7 separate regions of the Homo sapiens genome follow, and regions 1, 2, 3, 4, 5 and 7 are each linked to region 6. The links are contacts of gene promoters, found by promoter capture Hi-C in blood cells and fetal thymus (Javierre and others, 2016). All regions are on one chromosome and are shown on one strand. The core of a region is centred on a gene start or on the middle of the fragment in contact, and the rest is flanking DNA. Distances in the headings are between cores, read along the strand shown.

What was found. The method cuts DNA at HindIII sites, captures the fragments that hold promoters and counts their contacts. A CHiCAGO score of 5 or more calls a contact.
Region 1: a fragment that was not itself captured here is called in contact with the fragment with the promoter of NCAPH in region 6 in 2 of 17 cell types (M0 macrophages and M2 macrophages); the score reaches 7.4 in M0 macrophages.
Region 2: the fragment with the promoter of CNNM3 here is called in contact with the fragment with the promoter of NCAPH in region 6 in 10 of 17 cell types (naive CD8 T cells, naive B cells, neutrophils and 7 more); the score reaches 8.7 in naive CD8 T cells.
Region 3: a contact is called between a fragment that was not itself captured here and the fragment with the promoter of NCAPH in region 6, in 14 of 17 cell types (neutrophils, naive CD8 T cells, M1 macrophages and 11 more). The highest score is 13.0, in neutrophils.
Region 4: a fragment that was not itself captured here is called in contact with the fragment with the promoter of NCAPH in region 6 in 2 of 17 cell types (naive CD8 T cells and naive CD4 T cells); the score reaches 6.0 in naive CD8 T cells.
Region 5: a fragment that was not itself captured here is called in contact with the fragment with the promoter of NCAPH in region 6 in 1 of 17 cell types (monocytes); the score reaches 5.5 in monocytes.
Region 7: a contact is called between a fragment that was not itself captured here and the fragment with the promoter of NCAPH in region 6, in 3 of 17 cell types (M1 macrophages, M0 macrophages and monocytes). The highest score is 5.9, in M1 macrophages.

Annotation. Positions count from the first base shown.
Region 1 is chr2:96,073,028-96,075,813 of GRCh38, forward strand. No RefSeq gene overlaps it. Among named protein-coding and RNA genes, the nearest start is that of GPAT2, 40 kb to the left of the region's middle. The HindIII fragment of the contact is 887 bases long and covers 1,049-1,935 here.
Region 2 is chr2:96,814,748-96,817,722 of GRCh38, forward strand. CNNM3 (cyclin and CBS domain divalent metal cation transport mediator 3) reads left to right here and starts at 1,521. Exons shown (of 8, transcript NM_017623.5): 1 at 1,521-2,755. The coding sequence starts at 1,531. RefSeq lists an enhancer at 668-787 and silencers at 1,128-2,107, 2,118-2,257, 2,268-2,377. The HindIII fragment of the contact is 9,370 bases long and covers 1-2,975 here.
Region 3 is chr2:96,744,535-96,747,399 of GRCh38, forward strand. No RefSeq gene overlaps it. Among named protein-coding and RNA genes, the nearest start is that of LMAN2L, 5.9 kb to the left of the region's middle. The HindIII fragment of the contact is 2,172 bases long and covers 496-2,667 here.
Region 4 is chr2:96,721,577-96,724,276 of GRCh38, forward strand. The region is part of intron 4 of LMAN2L (lectin, mannose binding 2 like); the gene reads right to left. Among named protein-coding and RNA genes, the nearest start is that of LMAN2L, 17 kb to the right of the region's middle. The HindIII fragment of the contact is 956 bases long and covers 782-1,737 here.
Region 5 is chr2:96,666,073-96,668,776 of GRCh38, forward strand. It overlaps FER1L5 (fer-1 like family member 5), which reads left to right. Exons shown (of 53, transcript NM_001293083.2): 15 at 2,679-2,704. Among named protein-coding and RNA genes, the nearest start is that of FER1L5, 25 kb to the left of the region's middle. The HindIII fragment of the contact is 825 bases long and covers 947-1,771 here.
Region 6 is chr2:96,334,268-96,337,372 of GRCh38, forward strand. NCAPH (non-SMC condensin I complex subunit H) reads left to right here and starts at 1,499. Exons shown (of 18, transcript NM_015341.5): 1 at 1,499-1,581. The coding sequence starts at 1,563. RefSeq lists enhancers at 972-1,813, 1,814-2,655 and a silencer at 1,574-1,893. The HindIII fragment of the contact is 5,174 bases long and covers 1-2,281 here.
Region 7 is chr2:96,618,441-96,621,548 of GRCh38, forward strand. KANSL3 (KAT8 regulatory NSL complex subunit 3) reads right to left here. Exons shown (of 21, transcript NM_001115016.3): 4 at 1,232-1,322; 5 at 919-1,104. Among named protein-coding and RNA genes, the nearest start is that of KANSL3, 18 kb to the right of the region's middle. The HindIII fragment of the contact is 2,255 bases long and covers 278-2,532 here.

The DNA.
Region 1 (2,786 bases), core at 242-2,741, 260 kb before region 6:
TCCCCCAGAGGAGGCTGCAGGCAGCAAGCGAAACCCTTAGGTAAGATCGGAACAGCCGTCCACCACTGGGAGCATGAGCTGCATCCTGCCTTGGGGGGCCGCTTTGGTGGGAGTGTGCTGGGCAGAGAAGAAGGGAAGGACATCCAGGCAGAGGGGGCTCCTGGGCAAAGGCTCGAAGGTGCAGAGGTGAGAGGCATTTGGGAGCTGGTGAAGGCATTGGGGGTGGCCTCCTATTGGGGAGGAATGAAAGGGAAGGGCTCCTCTGGCAGGGGCCCCGTACTTTCCCGTGGGGACTTGAGTGGGGCTGGCTCTGCACCCCCACCCCTGCCCAGGGAGGGCTCCACTGTCCTGGGCTGACCAGAGAAGCAGTGGGTTCTGTCAGGAAGGGGAGGCTTCTTTAGCCCCGTTCATGAGGCAGCTGGGGGAGGAGGAGGAATGCAGTGGCATCCCACAGAGTGGCCCCGGGCCACTGACCTGCCCTCTCTGCCCCATTTCCTCACCTGTGACACAGAGACCCACACACCCAAGCCTCTAATCTGCTTCTAAGAACATTGTGAGAGCCAGTGATGATCAGAGGACTGCTTATTGTAAAGCAAAAGCTCCAGAAGGCTGTAAGTGAACAGGCCTGGGACATGAGAGCTAAAGGGCCCTGGGCTATCTGAGTGTCCAGCCTTCATTTAACAGCAGAAGAAACAGACCCAAGGAAGTCAGAGAATGTGGCCAAGATGAGCCGATGAGTTCGGGCAAAGACAGAACCCTGCCTTCTCTCCTGCACCATGCTAGCTCCAGACTGGCAACCCTTTCTCACCTCTGCCTGCTTCATCCCAAAACATTTCTCCTCAGCCTGGGTGCTGAATGGGATCACACCATTAGAATGGTTTCTTGGACATGGTTACTACGCATGCCTTTCTTGGGGAGACTTTAACAGGGAATCAGTCACTCACACTTTAGTATGAATTAGTTTTATCAGCAGTTATTTAGCATTAGTAGCATGAGGATTTTAAAGAAAAGAGCAGAGAGAGGAATACCTGTGGACCTAGGAAGGACAAGCTTGAATGGGCCCAAGACAGCTGCTACAGTATAAAGAGGAGATCTGGTTTCCAGTCCAGTTTCTAGAATGTATTCACTCTGAGCCCCAGAGCCCATCTCTATAAAATGGCAGCCATCAAGTACTTGAATCAGAAGTCCCTTCCAGGATGACATTCTGGTTTTCTCCACCGTAGGAGAGGGTCCCCAGAAGCGGACCAGGCTCAGGACAGGAAGGCCAGGCCTCTGGGCTCTTCATCTCATGGGCCAAGCCCTGTCACAGATCTCCACAAAGCCAAGGCTCCAGCAGGAGTCAGTCACAGAGGAAAACGCTGCCTCCTCGGCAATGCAGGAGGTGGGCTGAGCCCCAGCCAACCCCATCTTCAGCTCTCAGCAGCCTCTGCCAAGCAGGAGGCCCTGACTCTCCCGTGACAAACATAAATATTTGTTCCATCTGTGAGTCCTGACTTGGCTACAGAGCTCTGTCGTGTCCATTCTCTTTCTTTGGTAACAGTACTTTACTAAAGTGCAGGCTAATTAACATATAGTGAAGTACACAAATCCTAAGCTATAGCTTGATACATTTCTACAAATGCATACACCTGTAACCATCACTTGCATCCAGATAATCAAAGGAACTTGCAACGGTGTAATTGTATTGATCTCTCTCTGCCTGTTGCACTAGTGTTATTATATATTTTACTTCCACATGCTTATTATTTTGCTTTAAATGGCCAAAAGTGTTTTTTAAAGTAAAAAACAAAAGATAATCTCTTATATTTTCCACATATTTACAATTCCTGGTCCTTTCTATTTCTTTTGGGTAGTCTGGGCTTCCATCTGAGATTCTCTCCCTTTGGCCTCAGAAATTCCTTTAGTACTATTTATAGTGTTGCAATGAATTCCTTAAGCTTTCGTTTGTCTAAAAATGCCTTAATTTGGCCTTTATTTTTGAATGACATTTTTATTGGATATAGACTTCTAAGCTCACAGAATTTTTCCTTGAGACCCTTTAAAGTGGTTCTTCAATTGTCTTCTAGCTGCCTTTGTTTCTAGTGAGAAATCAGCTACAATTCTTATTGTGTTTCCCCTAAATGTAACCTGATTGTATTTTCTGGATGATTTTAAGATCTTTTTGCCTTTGTTTTCTAGCTTGATGATGATATCTCTAGGTATAGCCTTTCTTGTATTTATGTAGTTTAGGGTTATTTTTATTCTTGAATCTGTGGGTTGACGTCTTTCATGAGTTTTATGAAGATGTGTTCAGTCATTCTCTCTTCAAATATTTAGTCAAGCTCCATTCTCATTCTCCTCTCCTTCTGGGACTCCAGTTATACATACAACATGCCATTTAATATATTGTTTGATAGCTTTTGATGCTCTATTACAAGGGTTGCCAAACTTTTCTAAAGGGCAAGACTTAATATAGGCTTTGCAGGCCATATGGTCTCTGTCACAACTACTCAGCTTTTCTGTAAACAATGTCTGGTATGTCTGGGATCCATAAAACTTTATTTACAATAGCAGGCAGCAGGTCAAATTTGGTCCATGGGCCCACAGTTTGCTGACCCTTCCTCTGCTCTGTTGTTGTTAGTTTCTTTCCGTGCTTCCACTTGGAGAACTTAGTTTGACCTGCCTTTGAGTTATTGATCCTTTCTTCTGCTTGTATCCAATCTGTTGTCAACCCTATGAAGTGAATACTTCATTTTAGATTCTGTATTTTTCAGATCTAGAGTTTACATTTGCTTGTTGTTAATAGA
Region 2 (2,975 bases), core at 271-2,770, 480 kb after region 6:
AAACCCCGTCTCTACTAAAAATACAAAAAAATTAGCCGGGCGTGGTGGCGGGCGCCTGTAGTCCCAGCTACTCGGAGAGGCTGAGGCAGGAGAATGGCGTGAACCCGGGAGGCGGAGCTTGCAGTGAGCCGAGACTGCGTCACTGCACTCCAGCCTGGGTGACAGAGCGAGACTCCGTCTCAAAAAAAAAAAAAAAAGTTTTTTACAAAGCCTTTTCCTTTGGTCACTCACCACCAGCTTACTCATTTTTTTTTTTTTTTGCACATTACCTTCCACACAAGTTTTACTTTGTGGCCACAATGTGCATACTTTTTTTGATTGTTACTTTCATGACATAGCAAATTGTTTCTATAGAGTCTTTATAAAGGTCATTTAAAATGACATGTGCAGTAAGTCAAAGTCTTCTTGTGCTAGGAAATTTGAAAAAACAAAAGTGTAGAGAAAAATACAAAAATTACTGAATCTGAACATCTATAGAGAAGTGTTGTTAGCAGTTGGTTTATTTCCTTCCAATCACATACAGATCATATCTGATGGGTAAAGAATATTCCATACTGTCAACAGACCACACTGTCTTCTAAAATCGCTTCAGCAGTGAGGATCCTCTGGAATAGATCTTGTTAATCCTGAGGAATTATTCTCCCAGCGGTGAGCTATGAGAAGTGGAATCACCAGATGTAGTAATTCCTGACAGAACTGCCGCCTGCTTGTGTGGCTGAGATGCTGACCTAGGTATCAGGCTGGTCGCGCCGGAACCCAGCACCCACGCTGAGTCTTTCTGAGCTCCACTCTGCTCCTGTTAGATATTAACCACCTGAGGTAGCTGTCCAGATTCAAGGCGGTAGTGATTTTGTGTGTCTGTGTATTTATCACGGGGTCCGCGGCGGGAACGCAGGGGCTGTGTCCCACGTCCCCAAACCTCTAGTAGGGTACGGCGCGATGAACATCTTCCATAAACCTTAAACCTCCCGGCGCTCAGTCACTGGTTCTTATTTCAGCCCTCTTAGCCCCGTAGGTCGGCGCGCTGAAAACCTTTCTGGTACCTGGGGCCTTTCCTAAGAAAAAGGCACATGTCTCGCACATTTCAGTCTGGTCTGCAACTTCAGGCGCGCCAGCACCCGAGGTTCTTCCGACCGGCCGCTCCGCTCCCAAGCCGGGAACTTCCCAGAGAATTGGCTCGGCCTCCGGGCGCGGGGGACAGCATCGGGAGGAGTGGGACTCCGGGCGCCGCGCACGGGCCGAGGACAGCCGGGCTTGGGAGGCCCTGCCCGCCGCCCCGCGTCCTCCCGGCCACTGCCACCCCGCGCATCCGGAGCCGCAGCAGACTCGGCGGGGCCCGGAGCCCCACGCCCCCGGCCCGCCCCTGGCCGCCACTTGTTTACTCCCCGGCGCAGCCTAGTCCGACCCTGGGGCCCGCCCCCGCCCACCGCCTATTGGCCGAGGAGGCGCGAAGAGCCGTAACGATTGGCCCGGGGAGGCGCGGGGCGAGCGGGGTAGGCTGCGCGAGAGGCCGAGAGGGGGCAGCAGGCGATGGCGGCGGCGGTAGCTGCGGCGGGTCGGTTAGGCTGGTTGTTCGCCGCGCTCTGCCTGGGCAACGCCGCGGGGGAGGCCGCGCCGGGCCCGCGAGTGCTGGGCTTCTGCCTGGAGGAGGATGGAGCGGCGGGCGCGGGTTGGGTACGCGGAGGGGCGGCGCGGGACACGCCGGACGCCACCTTCCTCCTGCGCCTCTTCGGCCCGGGCTTCGCCAACAGCTCTTGGTCCTGGGTGGCCCCGGAGGGGGCGGGCTGCCGGGAGGAGGCGGCCTCCCCCGCGGGCGAGTGGCGCGCGCTGCTGCGCTTGCGCCTGCGGGCCGAGGCCGTGCGCCCGCACTCGGCGCTGCTGGCGGTGCGCGTGGAGCCGGGTGGCGGGGCGGCTGAGGAGGCGGCGCCGCCCTGGGCTCTGGGCCTGGGGGCGGCCGGGCTGCTGGCGCTGGCAGCGCTGGCGCGAGGCCTGCAGCTGAGCGCGCTGGCGCTGGCGCCTGCCGAGGTGCAGGTGCTGCGCGAGAGCGGCTCGGAGGCGGAGCGTGCGGCGGCGCGGCGTTTGGAGCCCGCGCGGCGCTGGGCCGGCTGCGCCTTGGGCGCGCTGCTGCTGCTGGCCAGCCTGGCGCAGGCGGCGCTGGCGGTGCTGCTGTACCGCGCGGCCGGCCAGCGTGCGGTGCCCGCCGTGTTGGGCAGCGCGGGGCTCGTGTTCCTGGTGGGAGAGGTGGTGCCGGCCGCCGTGAGCGGGCGCTGGACGCTGGCGCTGGCGCCGCGAGCGCTCGGCCTCAGCCGCCTGGCCGTCCTGCTCACTCTGCCCGTCGCGCTGCCCGTGGGGCAGCTGCTGGAGCTGGCGGCGCGGCCCGGGCGGCTGCGGGAGCGGGTGCTGGAGCTGGCGCGCGGCGGCGGCGACCCCTACAGCGATCTCAGCAAGGGCGTGCTGCGCTGCCGGACCGTGGAGGACGTGCTCACGCCCCTCGAAGACTGCTTCATGCTGGACGCCAGCACCGTGCTGGACTTCGGCGTCCTGGCCAGCATCATGCAGAGCGGCCACACGCGCATCCCGGTGTACGAGGAGGAGCGCTCCAACATCGTGGACATGCTCTACCTCAAGGACTTGGCCTTCGTGGATCCCGAAGACTGCACGCCGCTCAGCACCATCACTCGTTTCTACAACCATCCGCTCCACTTCGTCTTCAACGACACCAAGCTGGACGCTGTCCTGGAGGAATTCAAGCGAGGTAACGGCCCGGGCATGGTGCAGGGGACGCCCGTGCGAGTGCCCTCTCCCTGAAAAGGGGTGGAGAGTTATGGAAGCCTTCTGGAAAGGGTCCCACCCCTGTGGAGAGCAGTGAGACCTCTAAGGTCCCTTTTCAAGACGGTATTGGCCTTGCAGCTTGGAATGACCTTTTGAAATACTTAAAGGCCATCGATCAGAGTGGGAGGAATCCTTTAGACAGC
Region 3 (2,865 bases), core at 332-2,831, 410 kb after region 6:
GAAGGAGACCTGGGGTAATCCAGGTAAACAAGGGATCTTTCGTGAGAGGAAGGATGGAGAGGGTCTTATCTGAGTCACTGAGGAAGGGTGGAAGTGGGTCTTATCTTGGGATATTCCAGAGCAGGGTAGTCCGTTAAGACAGCCATCTCTCAGCTGGGCGCAGTGGCTCATGCCTGTAATCCCAGCGCTTTGGGATGCTGAGGCGGACAGATCATATGTCAGGAGTTTAAGACCAGCCTGGCCAACAAACATGGTGAAACCCTGTCTCTACTAAAAATACATAAAAAATTTGCCGGGCATCATGGCACGTGTGTGTAATCCCAGCTACTTGGGAGGCTGAGATATGAGAATCTCTTGAGCCTGGGAGGCAGAGGTTGCAGTGAGCCAAGATCGCGCCACTATACTCCAGCCTGGACAACGGAGTCTACAAAGTGAGATGGAAGGAAGACAAAAGGATGGGGAATTTCTTTACTGTAGGTGCTTTTCAGAAGCACAAGCTTCAGCTAAGTTCAACACAGTCAAGGTGTTGAGGGGTGGTAGTGGGAAAGAGAACAAGTAGCCATGGCCCCTTCAACGCCACCTTTTACTCACACGCAGAGGCACCTCCGAAAGCTGGCTCAGGTCTTGCGCTACCATCCTTTCAGCTGCCTAGTGGTCCCCTTTTTCTCTGTGGAATCATCTATCTCCCACGATCTAGGGCTGCACAACTTCAGGGCCGGGGTATTCATATGCAATGTGAGTTGTGCATTCCAGCAGTTCTGCATGATTCCTCTACCTTCCTGTCTTCCAAACCAAAGAGCAGGGCTGGGCGCAGTGGCTCATGCCTGTAATTCTAGCACTTTGGGAGGATCGCTTGAGCCCAGGAGTTCAAGATCAGCCTGGGCAAGATGTTGAGACCCTGTCCCTTTTAAAAAATTAAAAACAACAACAACCAAAGAAGTACCTCCACTCAGGAGCACCTTGAAGCCTGATGCCCCTTCACCCCATGACAGAGGCTCCAGGGCAGCCTCTTGGCCTATTCTTTCCACTGCTTCTCACCCTTCTTTTACAAACCTTGCCATTCAATTCTGATCCACCCCCTCCCAGGACAGAAGCAGCCCTCCCTAGGCCAAGTACAACCATCCATCCATCCTCAGGTATCCAGTGTGTCAGGTCCATCTTCAGCCCAATAGTCACAGCTGACCGGGTCCTACCAACTGTACCTCCAGTTCCCCAGGTAGCCACTGAAGCATACAAGAGGATAGCAGCTCCAACACTAACTAGCTAGCTACTTCCCAGCGGTGACTTCTCAACATTGGACTCCTGAAAGCCACAGTCAAATATCCTGGGGTAGGTACCTTTGCCTGAGCCCTACTGCCAGACACGTGACTCAACAAGTGTAGGGATTTAGCTTTGAAGAAAAAAAAATAAAACCTGGAGAATTTAATTTTTTTTTTTGAGAGAGAGTCTCACTCTATCACCCAGTGGAGGGCAGTGGTGTGATCACAGCTCACTGCAACCTCTGCCTCCCAGGCTCAAGCCATCCTCCCACCTCAGCCTCCTGAGTAGCTGGGACCACAGGCACATGCCACCACACCCAGCTAAATTTTATATTTTTTGTAGAGACGGGGTTTCACCATGTTGGCCAGGCTGGTCTCGAACTCCTGGGTTCAAGCAATCCGCCCACTTCAGCGTCCCAAAGTACTGGGATTACAGGCGTGAGCCACCATGCCTGGCCTTTTTTTTTTTCTTTTAAGAGATGGGGTCTTGTTCTGTCACCCAGGCTAGAGTGCAGTGGTGTGAACTGCAGCCTCAAACTCCTGGGCTCAAGGGATTCTCCTGGCTCAAACTCCTGGGCTCAAGGGATCCTCCTGCCTTAGCCTTCTGAGTAGTTGGAATACAGTCAGGTGTCACCATGCCTGGCTATTATTTTATTTTTTGTAGAGATAATGTCTTGCTATTTGCCCAGGCTGGTCTTGAACTCCCGGGCTCGAGGCATCCTACTACCTTGGCCCTCGAAAGTGTTGGAATTATAGGCATGAGCCATCGTGCCCACCCCACCCTCCACCAGAGAATTTAATACGCAGCCCAGTTTTCAGAACTACAGCCCTTTCACATGCAGTATCTCATTTTGACCTCACAATGACTTGTTGTGGTAATCTTTAAGATTAGGACAGGCTGGGCTCAGTGGCTCACACCTGCAGTACGAGCACTTTGGAGGCCGAGGCAGGAGGATCACTTGAATTCAGGAGTTTGACACCAGCCTGGGCAACATAGTAAGACCCCGTCTCTAAAAAATACAAAAAATACAAAAAATTGTCTGGGTGTGCTAGTGTGCGCCGGTAGGCCCAGCTACTTGGGAGGCTGCGACATTTTACCCCGGGGGTCAAGGCTGTAGTGAGCCATGATCAGGCCACTCCACTCCAGCCTGGGTGACAGAGAAAGACCCTATCTCTTAAAAAAAAAAAATGACAAGAACAGTTCATAGAGGCTCCAACTCCTGAATTTAAAGATAAGAATTAAAGATTTGCTTTAAGATACTCTAGAGGAATATCGTGTGTGTGTGTTTAGAAGGGTAGGATGGATAAACAAAAAAAGCATCAGGATGTTGAGAACTGCTGCAGCTGAGATAGGGGTGCACAACACTCCCTCCAGCTTCATGGATGTGTGAGAGTTGCCGTAAGGAAAAGCTTCTCAAAGTCTCCCGTGGAGATGATGAGGAAATATGCTGGGTATGCATTTGTGGTGTTTTCTAAATTTCCCTGAGGGAAGGAAAACTGTAATTAACTATAATCTAGTAAAGTTCATTGTGACCCATCCAATATAATGTTGTCATAACTAAAGAGAGAGGCGTCTGCAATCTAGAAAAAGAACAGTCAAGGGATG
Region 4 (2,700 bases), core at 10-2,509, 390 kb after region 6:
TACAGCCTTGACCTCCTGGACTCAAGCAATCCTCCTGCCTCAGCCTGCAAAGTAGCTGGGACCAGCTAATTTTTTTTGTTTTTTGTAAAGATGGGGTCTCCCTATGTTGCCCAAGCTGATCTAAAACTCCTAGACTCAAGCAATCCTTCCACCTTGGCCTCCCAAAGTGTTGGGATTATAGGCACGAGCCACCACACCCAGTGATACTTATTTTCATTGCTGATATTTCCATTATAACAATATATCACATTTTGTTTATCCTCTAATCCAGTAGTCCTCAACCTTTTTGGCACCAGGGACTGGTTTCCTGGAAGACAATTTTTCCATGAACCGGGGAGTTGGAGGGGGGGTGGTTTCGGGATGATTCAAGCACATTACATTTATTGTGTACTTTCTTTCTTTTTTTTTTGAGACGGAGTCTCACTCTGTTGCCCAGGCTGGAATCCAGTGGCGCGATCTTGGCTCACTGCAAGCTCCGCCTGCCAGGTTCACGCCATTCTCCTGCCTCAGCCTCCCGAGTAGCTGGGACCATAGGTGGCCGCCACCACGCCCGGCTAATTTTTTTGTATTTTTAGTAGAGACGGGGTTTCATCGTGTTAGCCAGAATGGCCTCAATCTCCTGACCTCGTGATCCGCCCACCTTGGCCTCCCAAAGTGTTGGGATTACAGGCGTGAGCCACCGCACCCGGCCTGTGTACTTTATTTCTATTATTATCACGTTATAATATATAATGAAATAATTATACAGCTCACCATGATGTAGAAATCAGCGGGAACCCTAAGCTTGTTTTCCTGCAACTAGATAGTCCCATCTGGGGGTGATGGGAGACAGTGACAGATCATCAGGCATTAAATTCTCCTAAGGAGAAAACTAGATCCCTCGCATGCTCAGTTCATAAGAGGGCTCCTGCTCCTATGAGAATCTAATGCCACCACTGATCTGAGAGGAGGCGGAGCTCAGGCAGTAATGAGAGCAATGGGGAGCAGCTGTAAATACAGATAATGCTTCACTTGCTCGCCCACCATTCACCTGCTGTGCAGCCTGGTTCCTAACAGGTTGGGGACCCCTGCTCTAATCAGTTGATGGACATTTAAGTTGTATCCATTTCTTGGCTATTATGAATAATGCTGCTATGAACATTCATATAAAAGTTTTTGTGTAGGCCGGGTGCAGTGGCTCATGCCTATAATCCCAGCACTTTGGGAGGCCAAGGCGGGCGGATAACTTGAGGTCAGGAGTTTGAGACTAGCCTGGCCAACATGGCAAAACCCGTATCTACTAAAAATGTAAAAATTAGCCAGGCGTGGTGGCAGGCGCCTGTAATCCCAGCTGCTTGGAAGTCTGAAGCAGGGGAATCACTTGAGCCCAGGAGGCAGAGGTTGCAGTGAGCTGAGATCACGCCACTGCACTTCATACTGGGCAACAGAGCAAGACTCCATCTCAAAAAAAAAAAAGTTTTGTGTAGATGTTTTCATTTCTCTTAGGTACACACCTATGAGTGGAATTGCTAGATCATGTAAAGTCTATGTTTAGTCATTTGAAGAAATGTCAAACTTTTCCAAAGCAACTACACCATTTTACATTCCCACCAGCAGTCTATGAGGGTTCCAATTACTCCATATCCTTGCCAACACTTCTAATCTTTTTTATTTTAGCCATTCTAGCGGGTGTAAAGTAGTGTCTTATGGTTTTAATTTGCATGTCCCTGATGGCTGATGATGCTCAGCCTCTTTTCAAGCTTCTTGGCCACTTGTATATCTCTTCTAGAGAAATACCTATTAAGATCTTTTGCCCATTTTCTAATTTGGTTGTCTTACTATTGAGTTGTAATAGTTCTTTACGTTTCAAACAAATCTCTAATAAGATATGATTTGCATATATCTTTTCCCATTCTGTAGGTTCTTTACATTTCCTTGATGATGTCCTATGAAACACGTAAGGTTTCAATTTTGATGAAGTTCAATTTATCCTTTTCTTTCGTTGCTTTTTCTTTTGGTGTCACATCTAACAACTGCCTGATCCAAAGTCAAGAAGAATCAATCCGATATTTTTTTTTTCTAAAAGTTTTATAGTTTTAATTTTTACATTTAGATCTTTCATCCATTTCGAGTTAAATTTTCTGTGTGGTGTGAAATAGGGAATAACTTCATTATTTTACACGTGGATAACTAGTTGTTGAAAAGATGATTCTTTCCCCATTGAATTATCTTGTGGAAAATTAATTGATTAGACCGGGCACGGTGGCTCACGCCTGTAATCCCAGCACACTGGGAGGCCGACGCGGGTGGATCACGAGATCAGGAGATCGAGACCATCCTGGCTAATATGGTGAAACCCCATCTCTACTAAAAACATATATATTAAAAAAAAAAATAGCCAGGCGTGGTGGCAGGCACCTGTAGTCCCAGCTACTCGGGAGGCTGAGGCAGGAGAATGGCGTGAACCCAGGAGGCAGAGCTTGCAGTGAGCCGAGATCGTGCCACTGCACTCCAGCCTGGGAGACAGAGCGAGACTCTGTCTCAAAAAAAAAAAAGAAAGAAAAAGAAAATTAATTGATTAAATGTGACGTTTTATTTCCAGACTCTCAGTTCTATTCCATTGATCTGTATGTCTACCCAGATGCCAGTAGCACACTGTCTTTATTATTGTAGCTTTGTAGTAAGTTTTGAAATCAGGAAGTGTGAGCATTCCAACTTCAC
Region 5 (2,704 bases), core at 109-2,608, 330 kb after region 6:
CAGCAGGCAGGTGTGAACCTCTCTCTGAAGAGGCAGAACAGCCAGCCACACAGATGGCAGCATCTGAGGCCAGGTGGTCAGAAGGGGAGCAGAGCCCAGGGCACTGCAGAAAACTGGCCTGTACCAATGGTCAGTCCGAGGGCCCCAGGGCAGAAGGGGAGGCAGCACACTAGATGAGGAACCAAGAAGCAGGAGGAGAATTATTAGCAGGATGGATGGAAAGGTGGTTCCGCCATAAATCTGAACTTGGAGGACTCCTAACTTTGGAAGACCTGGATGCCTTCTGGTGCCGATCTCTCCCCTTCCAATGTCCTTCCTTAACCTGGGCAATTTCCTCCTTTCTTACTGACTAGCTGCTCACCTGGAAAGCCCTTTCCTCTTCTCCTTGGCCCCTTAGCTGTCAGGACCCAGGGAGAATGGGATGAAGAAAATGGAAAGCTGGGAGGTTCCCAGCCACATCCCAAGAACTGCTGTAAGGAGAAGAGGCCCCAGCTGAGAGGATTGAGGATTTGGGGTCCCACTCTGGCCTCAACCCAGCAGCTCTATTTTACACATGGACACATGGATTTTTTTCTTTTATTTATTTATTTTTTTTTTTTAGACAGTCTTGCTCTGTTGCCCAGGCTAGACTGCAGTGACGCAATCTCAGCTCACTGCAACCTCCACCTCCTGGGTTCAAGCAATTCTTGTGCCTCAGCCTCCTGAGTAGCTGGGACTACATGCATGAGCCACCATGCCCAGCTGATTTTTTGTATTTTTGGTAGAGATGGGGGTCTCAATATGTTGTCCAGGCTGGTCTTGAACTCCTGGCCTCAAGTGATCCTCCCACTTCAGCCTCCCAAGTACTGGGATTACAGGCATTAGCCACCGCATCTGGCCTCTTTTCTTTCTTTCTTTTTAAAAATAATTGAGGAAACCATAATGCAGAGTGGAGATGGGACACAGAAGCTTGGGTAGGAATCCTGACTCCACCCCTTACTATGTGACCTTGAGCAAGTCCCTCTGCCTCTCTAGGCCTGATTCCCCATCTCTTTATAGGGACAATCACAGTCCTCAAGGGGTTACAGCAGAGTGGTTTTGGCAACTGCATGTAGCATGAGAACTTCAGGAACTCAACCTCTCTGATCTCAGCTTTCCCATATGAAAATGGGAATAATAATAGCACCTGGTTCATGAGGTTTTTAGGAGAGCCCACTCAGCTGGTCTATGGAATTTGTTTAGCACAAGCCAGGGGCAACAGAAACCTCCTAAAGAGGCAGCTATTATTATTTATTCTTTTTTTTTTTTTTTTTGAGACGGAGTTTCGCTCTTGTTGCCTAGGCTGGAGTGCAATGGCACGATCTCAGCTCACTGCAACCTCCTCTTCCCGGGTTCAAGTGATTCTCCTGCCTCAGCCTCCCGAGTAGCTGGGATTACAGGCATGCGCCACCACACCCGGCTAATTTTGTATTTTTAGTAGAGACAGGGTTTCTCCATGTTGGCCAGGCTGATCTTGAACTCCTGACCTCAGGTGATCTGCCCGCCTCGGCCTCCCAAAGTGCTGGGATTACAGGCATGTGCCACCATGCCTGGTTTATTATTTATTCTTTGAGGAGACAGATATACTGCTGTTTAAAAAGTTGATGGCTAGACATGATGAAGACATTCTAGGCCCACGGCCTCTCCATGAGATGGTTTGGTGAATGTGCATTCAGACTGCGAGGGGCTGTATGAGGACAGTAATATCTACCAGCCCACAGTCAGGGCAGACTCAGGTGTCAGAGGGGCCTGAAGCTTATGCAATTAGGGGACTTTTTTTTCTTTTTTGAAACAAGGTCTCACTCTGTCACCCAGGTTGGAGTGCAGTGGCACGATCATGGTTCACTGTAGCCTCAACCTCACGGGCTCAAGCAATCCTCCCACCTCAGCCTCCTGAGTAGCTGGGACTATAGGTGAGTGCCACCACACCCAGCTAATTTTTGTATTTTTTGTAGAGAGAGGATTTCATCATGTTGCCCAGGCTGCTCAAGTGATCTGCCCGCTTCAGCCCCCCAAAGTGCTGGGATTACAGGTGTGAGCCACCATGCTTGTCCAGAGGGCCATTTTAAAGACAAAAATACAAAACGATCATGTGACAAGTTCCAGGCCCCTCTCAGGACCTTGCAAGGGGCCTATTCAAATGGGAGGCCCAGCTGGGCGAGGTGGCTCACACCTCTAATCCCAACATTTTGAGAGCCCTACGCAGGAGGATTGCTTTTGCCCAGGAGTTCGAGACCAGCTTGGGCAACATAGTAAGGCACCTGTCTCTACAAAAAAAAAAAAATTGTTTTTAATTACCTGGGCCTGATGGCAGGTGCCTGTAGTCCCAGCTACTCAGGAGGCTGAGGCGGGAGGATCGTTTGAGCCTGAGAGGTGTAGGCTGTAGTGAGCTATGATCATGCCACTGCACTCCAGTCTAGGTGACAGAGCAGCACCCTGTCTGAAACAAAACAAAGCAAACCCCCAGAAAACAAGAGGCCCTAAAGCCAAAGCTCGATTCGCTTGGTTCAAAATCCAGCTTTTCTATGATGAAGTGGCTCACTGGTAACTGAGCCAGGACTTGCTCCCAGACCCGCGACTCCCTACCTGTTCTTAAAATCTCCACGAGGGCCAGACCATCCCAATGTGTACCCACCGCACCTCTCTCCTTCCCTCCACAGCTACCCTGCCTCTCCAGCTACATCAA
Region 6 (3,105 bases), core at 249-2,748:
AAAAGTGGTTTTCAGCCAGGCGCAGTGGCTCATGCCTATAATCCTAACACTTTGAGAGGCCAAGGCGGGTGGATCACCTGAGGTCAGGAGTTCGAGACCAGCCTGACCAACATGGTGAAACCCCATCTCTACTAAAAATACAAAAATTAGCTGGGTGTGGTGGTGGGCGCCTGTAATCCCAGCTATTCAGGAGGCTGAGGCAGGAGAATCGCTTGAACTTGGGAGGTGGAGGTTGCAGTGAGCTGAGATCGTGCCATTGCACTCCAGCCTGGGCAACAAAGCAAGACTCTGTCTCAAAAAAAAAAAAAAAAAAAGTGGTTTTCAACAAAGGGTGGCACTTTTTGATTGCCAAAATGAGCGACAGCACTGATGGCATTTAGTGGGCAAATGATGTTACGGGGGCTTAAGAGCCCACAAAGAGGGCAAACATCCTATCATGCCAAGGATTGTTTCACCCTGAATGCCAACAGTGCCCTTGAAGAGAAACACTGTAAAAGATGCCAGATATGAGAGTTACAAGAAATTCTAGGATGTGCTGGGGATATTCCAGGGAATCACCCTGGCCTTTACTCCCATAATTCAATCCTTAGGGTTAGATGAAACTGAGGGGACAGATGGCATTTTATGCTTATTTCGCTTTTTCGACCTTTATTTATTTTTTGAAGGGTGGGGGGTGTTCACAGGAAGCTATTCACAAGAATCTGAATAAAACGATGGCCTTCATCTTACACTATATTAAATGTACATTTTGTACTATATTTAATGTATACATAGCATTTCTGCATCAGTTCTTCCCCACCTGGACCGCTCCTCATTCCCACGTAGGCTCCCGCTCCCCTCCGTCCCTCTTCCCGGAGGTTTTCAGCGTTTTGCTGCCCACACAGCACAGATCTCTAAGGGAAATAAACCTCGTTTTCTCGATCATCTGCCTCCCCATTATAAAGTAAATTCCACGGGCTGAGCGCGGTGGCTCACGCCTGTAATCCCAGCACTTCGGGAGGCCGAGGTGGGCGGATCACCTGAGGTCAGGAGTTCGAGACCAGCCTGGCCAACATGGTGAAACCCCGTCTCTACTAAAAACACAAAAATTGGCCAGGCGTGGTGGCAGGCGCCTGTAATCCCAGCTACTCGGGAGGCTGAGGCAGGAGAATCGCTTTAACCCAGGAGGCGGAGGTTGCAGTGAGCCAAGATCGCGCCACTGCACTCCAGTCTGGGGGACAAGAGCTAGACTTCGTCCCAAAAAAAAAAAAAAAAGAAAGTAAATTCCACGAAAGACGGGCCTTGCTCACCCTGCTCGACGCTGGGTTCCCAAGCCCAGTCCTGCACCTAGTCCTCGAAGGAGGGGGTTTTCATACTATTTCAGGGGGTCCACCGACCCCAAGAAGCCCAATCAGACGGGGTCCTCAACCCAAAACTCACTCTGACGCCGCCCGCGGAGGCCCGAGGTGGTCTGCGCAGGCGCGCTGCTGGCCCGGCCCGCCGGCGACGTCACGCGGCCGTTACGGCGCTCAGGCGTCTCGACGCGCGCGATTTAAAACCAGCTCAGGAGACGCCAAGGAAAGATGGGACCTCCCGGCCCAGGTGAGCCGGGCGGTCGGGAGGCGCGGCGGGAAGGGCCCCTAGCGAAGCAGTACTTCGGGCGGGCAGGGCTGGCGGGCTGGCCTGGGCGGGGAGAGAGGATATGCTCAGCTCGGGTCTTGGCCCTGCGGCTGACAGCAGAGGCCGGTGCGGGGGGAGGGGAGGGCCGGCGCGGGGCGGGCGGACCTTGTGCGCTCAGCCAATCAGAAAGCGGCTTCGGCCGGAGTCGGAGAGCGCGCGGGCCCTGCCTCACACTCCTCAGTTCCCGGGCGGGCGGTGGGGCGGCCTCCTCCTTGGGCTCCTAAAGCGTGCTCGGTGTCTCTCCATTAAAATGGTGGTTTTCCTGGAATAGACGTTATTTTCAGGGCTTTGGAAGCGATGTGGTTACCGTTGTATGCTTAGCATGCATGCATTTATTTTTGCATCTATTCAAAAGTACTGAGCTCTCCCGTTGGGCGAACAAAATTGATAATATCTCTATACTGTTGGAGTTGGGGAGACAGACAGTAAACAAAAGAAATAATTACACATGAGGCTGAGTGCTGTGATTGAGTATAGCAGAGTAGGGGTGGCTCCGCCAGGGGTTCAGGGAAGATCTTTAGGCAGATACTAGGGAACGTGTTTCAGGCAGAAGGAGCAAGTACAAAAATGAGGCAGGGAAGAGCCTGGCCTGGCCTAGGACCTGACCAGAACATTGTGACCAAGCTTAGTGAGGCCTGACACGTAGGCAGGGTCTGGAGGCCTTGGGTAAGAGATTTGGAAATTGAGTTACATTTTGGACATGGTATGTGTGACTTACGGGAGAGACTCAGGTGAAGGGATCTATAATCACTTAGGTGAGAATTTGGCTCTCAGGGGAGTTATATGGACCACTCAGGGAAGTGACCCATGGATTGAGAAATAAATTTGGATACCATTATCATATAGACCATTAGACCATAAAACCATGGGAACAGGTGAGAACACTAGGAAGGCCCTGCACATCTAGGACCAACGTTTAGAAGCTGGATAGAGAAGGATGAGCTGGAAAAACTCAAAAGACAGTGGTATAGGAAGAAGCCAAGAGTGTTTCAACAAGGAAGGGACTGTCAGCTGTTTCAAATGCTGCTGGATTCCAAGAGAAAGGCCAGAAAATGACCATAGGGTTTAGGCAACATGGAAGTTATAGATGATCACGAAAAGATAGTTCTCATGAAGTTGGAATAGGAACCAGACCAGAGTGGGTTGAAAAATGAGTGGGAAATGAGGAAGTAGACATAGGAAGTGTCTTTGAGCTCAGTAACCATCGGTTGAATGAATGGATGCATAATATCAAAGGCAAGGAGAGAAACCACGGAAAGAAGATTTGGAGAATTAAAGCATGCCTCTAATTCCAAGTTTAGTTTCTCTCTTAGACAAGGTTCTCCTTAAGTGCTTCCTATTTCTGTTAAGGTATCCTCTCCAAAGGTCCAGGTTCCTTCCTTAGCCTGTAGCCTACTGTGCTCACATCCAAATACTGTCCTCATAAGTCCTCTTGATTCAGTTTCT
Region 7 (3,108 bases), core at 155-2,654, 280 kb after region 6:
CAGCCTCCCGAAGTGCTAGGATAATAGGCATGAGCTACTATGCCCGGCCGTGAGGCCATTTTGTATTGGAGCAAAACACCCCAAATATTTCAAGAACCTATGAGGGTACTACTTAAATAACTGTTAATATTAGTAATAATAATTACTGTGGGCTCACTGCTTACTATGTGCCCAATTTTGTGTTAAGCCCCCTACCTGAATTAACTAATTTAATTTTCATAAAAATCCTAGATAGCTATTATTATCAGCCACATTTTAGAGATGAGACACCAGTCCAAGCTTACACAGCTAATCAGTAACAAAGCTGAGATCAGCCAGGCAATCTGCCTCCAGCATCCGCATTCTACCACATTGACGATAGCCTGATGCAATCACTGGAATCACCAAGAAAAACAGTTTAACTTTGTGCAATACTAAGTAAGAAAGCAGGGAACTATAATGATATGTTTGTACTGAATTATAAAAGTCTAAGTGTTGCTACTAAAGGCTCATGCCCTGGGGAGCAGAATTGAAGGCATCACGGCACGTTCCTGCTCTGCAATCTCCCAGTGCTCCGAGCACCAAGGGTCTGCTTCTGTCACCTTTCTCAACAAACTCTTCCCTGGTAAACCCTTCGTCTCCTTCATGATAATTCAATTCAGCCATGACTCAAACCACAAGCTGCAAGGCTAGGAAGGCTAAATGTATACTCTGGTTTTCAGGCCCCATACCTCATCCTGGAGCCAGCAGGGCTGAAAACGTTTACACCAGACACAAATGTGAAATGATACCCTGTCTCCCAATTTTAGTACCAAACCCATTAGTTTTGGCCATGCACTCCAGACCGACCAGATAATTACTTTGCCTAACCCCACATCCTGAACCCACAGGGGAGGATGGCTATCCCTAGGACAGGGCAGACCCCAATCACAGCCTTACCTTCCCCTTCAGCGTCTGCAAAGCATCCAGGTAGGCTGCCAGCATGGGCAGACTCAAGGTCTCCACAAGGGTGGTGTGCAGCCACTGGATCAGCTTGGTATCCCAGCTCACACTTGCCAGAGCCTGCCGCACTCTCCTTGCACACTTGTCCACAGCAACACGGCGCAGCACTGGCTCATTACAAGCCTGAAGGATGTAAGTGGAAGTAATAAAACATGAGGACTACCTGGTTAACAAGCAGGGGGACAAGTCAGTCAGCCAGTGAGGCCTGAACTACGAAGAGCCCACTGTGGGCGGATTGCTGGTGTCTTACCCCTTCGTTGGCCAAGCGGGCAAGCCGGTCAGACTGCAGGGCTTTGAGGATCTTGTTGAATAGCTTGTTCTGGGCCATTGTCCAGCCAGTCCTATAAGGGAAACTCTGAGGAATTATAGTCAAACCCTGGGGACGCTCCCCATGTATGTACACCATATAAAGAAGATTATGCCATAGTTTTATGTCTCTGCTAGGGAACAGTAAAACGAAGTAGCTTAGTCTAAGACCACTGACCTAAAACACAAGACCTAGATTCTTCTGGTCTCAATCCTACCAAATCAAATCGTCACAGCACACACTTGTATTAATAATACACACATACACACAATAATATACACAGTACAAGTCAAGACTAGTCATGAAAAAAGTCTTTCAGGCTAGCAAAGCTAATTACTTACTTAGTAGCTAAAATTATTCCAATCATAAATAAACGCACAGCACCACTGAACAGACGACATATTTGAATTTCATAAGTTTTATATTTCACACAAAAAGGCAGACAGGATCAGCAAGCATTTTAATGTACTAAAATCTCAGACTGAGGTAAGAATTCTATTTAAACTAGGCTTAAGAACAAAAATATAGCAGAAATATAACCAATAAAGAGGCTATTCTTCCACTCCTCAATATTCTACCCCACACTAATCTCTCTTTTCCATATATATTTTTTGTATTTTTTCTATATGCCACACAATTAGCAAATTTATTTTTGAGAGGCCTGCTCCATATAAGCTAATATGTTATCATCCCAGCATACGGCACTGGTATTCACACATCTACCTTATTGCTTATTGCTTACCTATTACTTACTGAGGCTTTGTGTGTTGCAGACATCTATCCTACTGTTCTTATCTCCACCTCATCACACCCAGTTTAGTGATATGGAGCTTATTATTGTCCCCCTTCACCCCACTCCCAGCAATCTTAATTACTCAGATGCTCTAACTCTGGCTAGTGACCTTCCTAAAGATACCAAAAGAAAGGCAATTGAAGATGCTCTATTAATATGTGTTTTCCTATTCTCCCTGCCTTAAAAAAAAGCTGATGGTGGCCAGGCGCAGTGCTTCACGCCTATAATCCCAGCACTTTGGGAGGCCAAGTGGAGTGGATCGCTTGAGTCCAGGAATTCAAGACCAGTCTGTGCAAATGGCAAAACCCCATCTCTAAAAAAAATACAAAAATTAGCTGGGCATGGTGGTGCGTGCCTGTAGCCCCAGCTACTCGGGAGCCTGAGGTGGGAGAATCGCTTGAGCCCAGGAGGTTGAGGCTGCAGTGAGCCGTGATCATGCCACTGCACTCAAAGCTTCAGTGACAGTGAGGCCTTGTCTCAAAAAAAATAAAAATAAAAATAAAAAATTACCTGGGTGCTACACCCAAATGAGACCCTGGAATGGGATCAAGGTAGCATTTCAAATCAGTCTGGATAAAGTCCCTAAATGTAGGGCTGAGACAACCACAACTGGAAAAAGAAAATCTGATCCCTACATATCATTCTACATCAAATTTCAGATGGAAGAAAAAGAAGACATAAAAGGAAGAAAGAGAAATGTAACTACATAAAAATTTCAAACTTTGGCCAGGAGTCTGTAATCCCAGCACTTTGGGAGGCCAAGGTGGGTGGATCACGAGATCAGGAGTTCAAGACCAGCCTGGCCAATATGGTGAAACCCCATCTCTACTAAAAATACAAAAATTAGCTGGGCGTGGTGGCATGCGCCTGTAGTCCCAGCTACTCCGGAGGCTGAGGCAGAAGAAGCACTTGAATCCAGGAGGCAGAGGTTGCAGTGAGCCGAGATTGCGCCACTGCACTCCAGCCTGGGTGACAGAGTGAGACTCTGTCTTGAAAAAAAAAAAAAAATTCAAACTTTAAGCCAGGC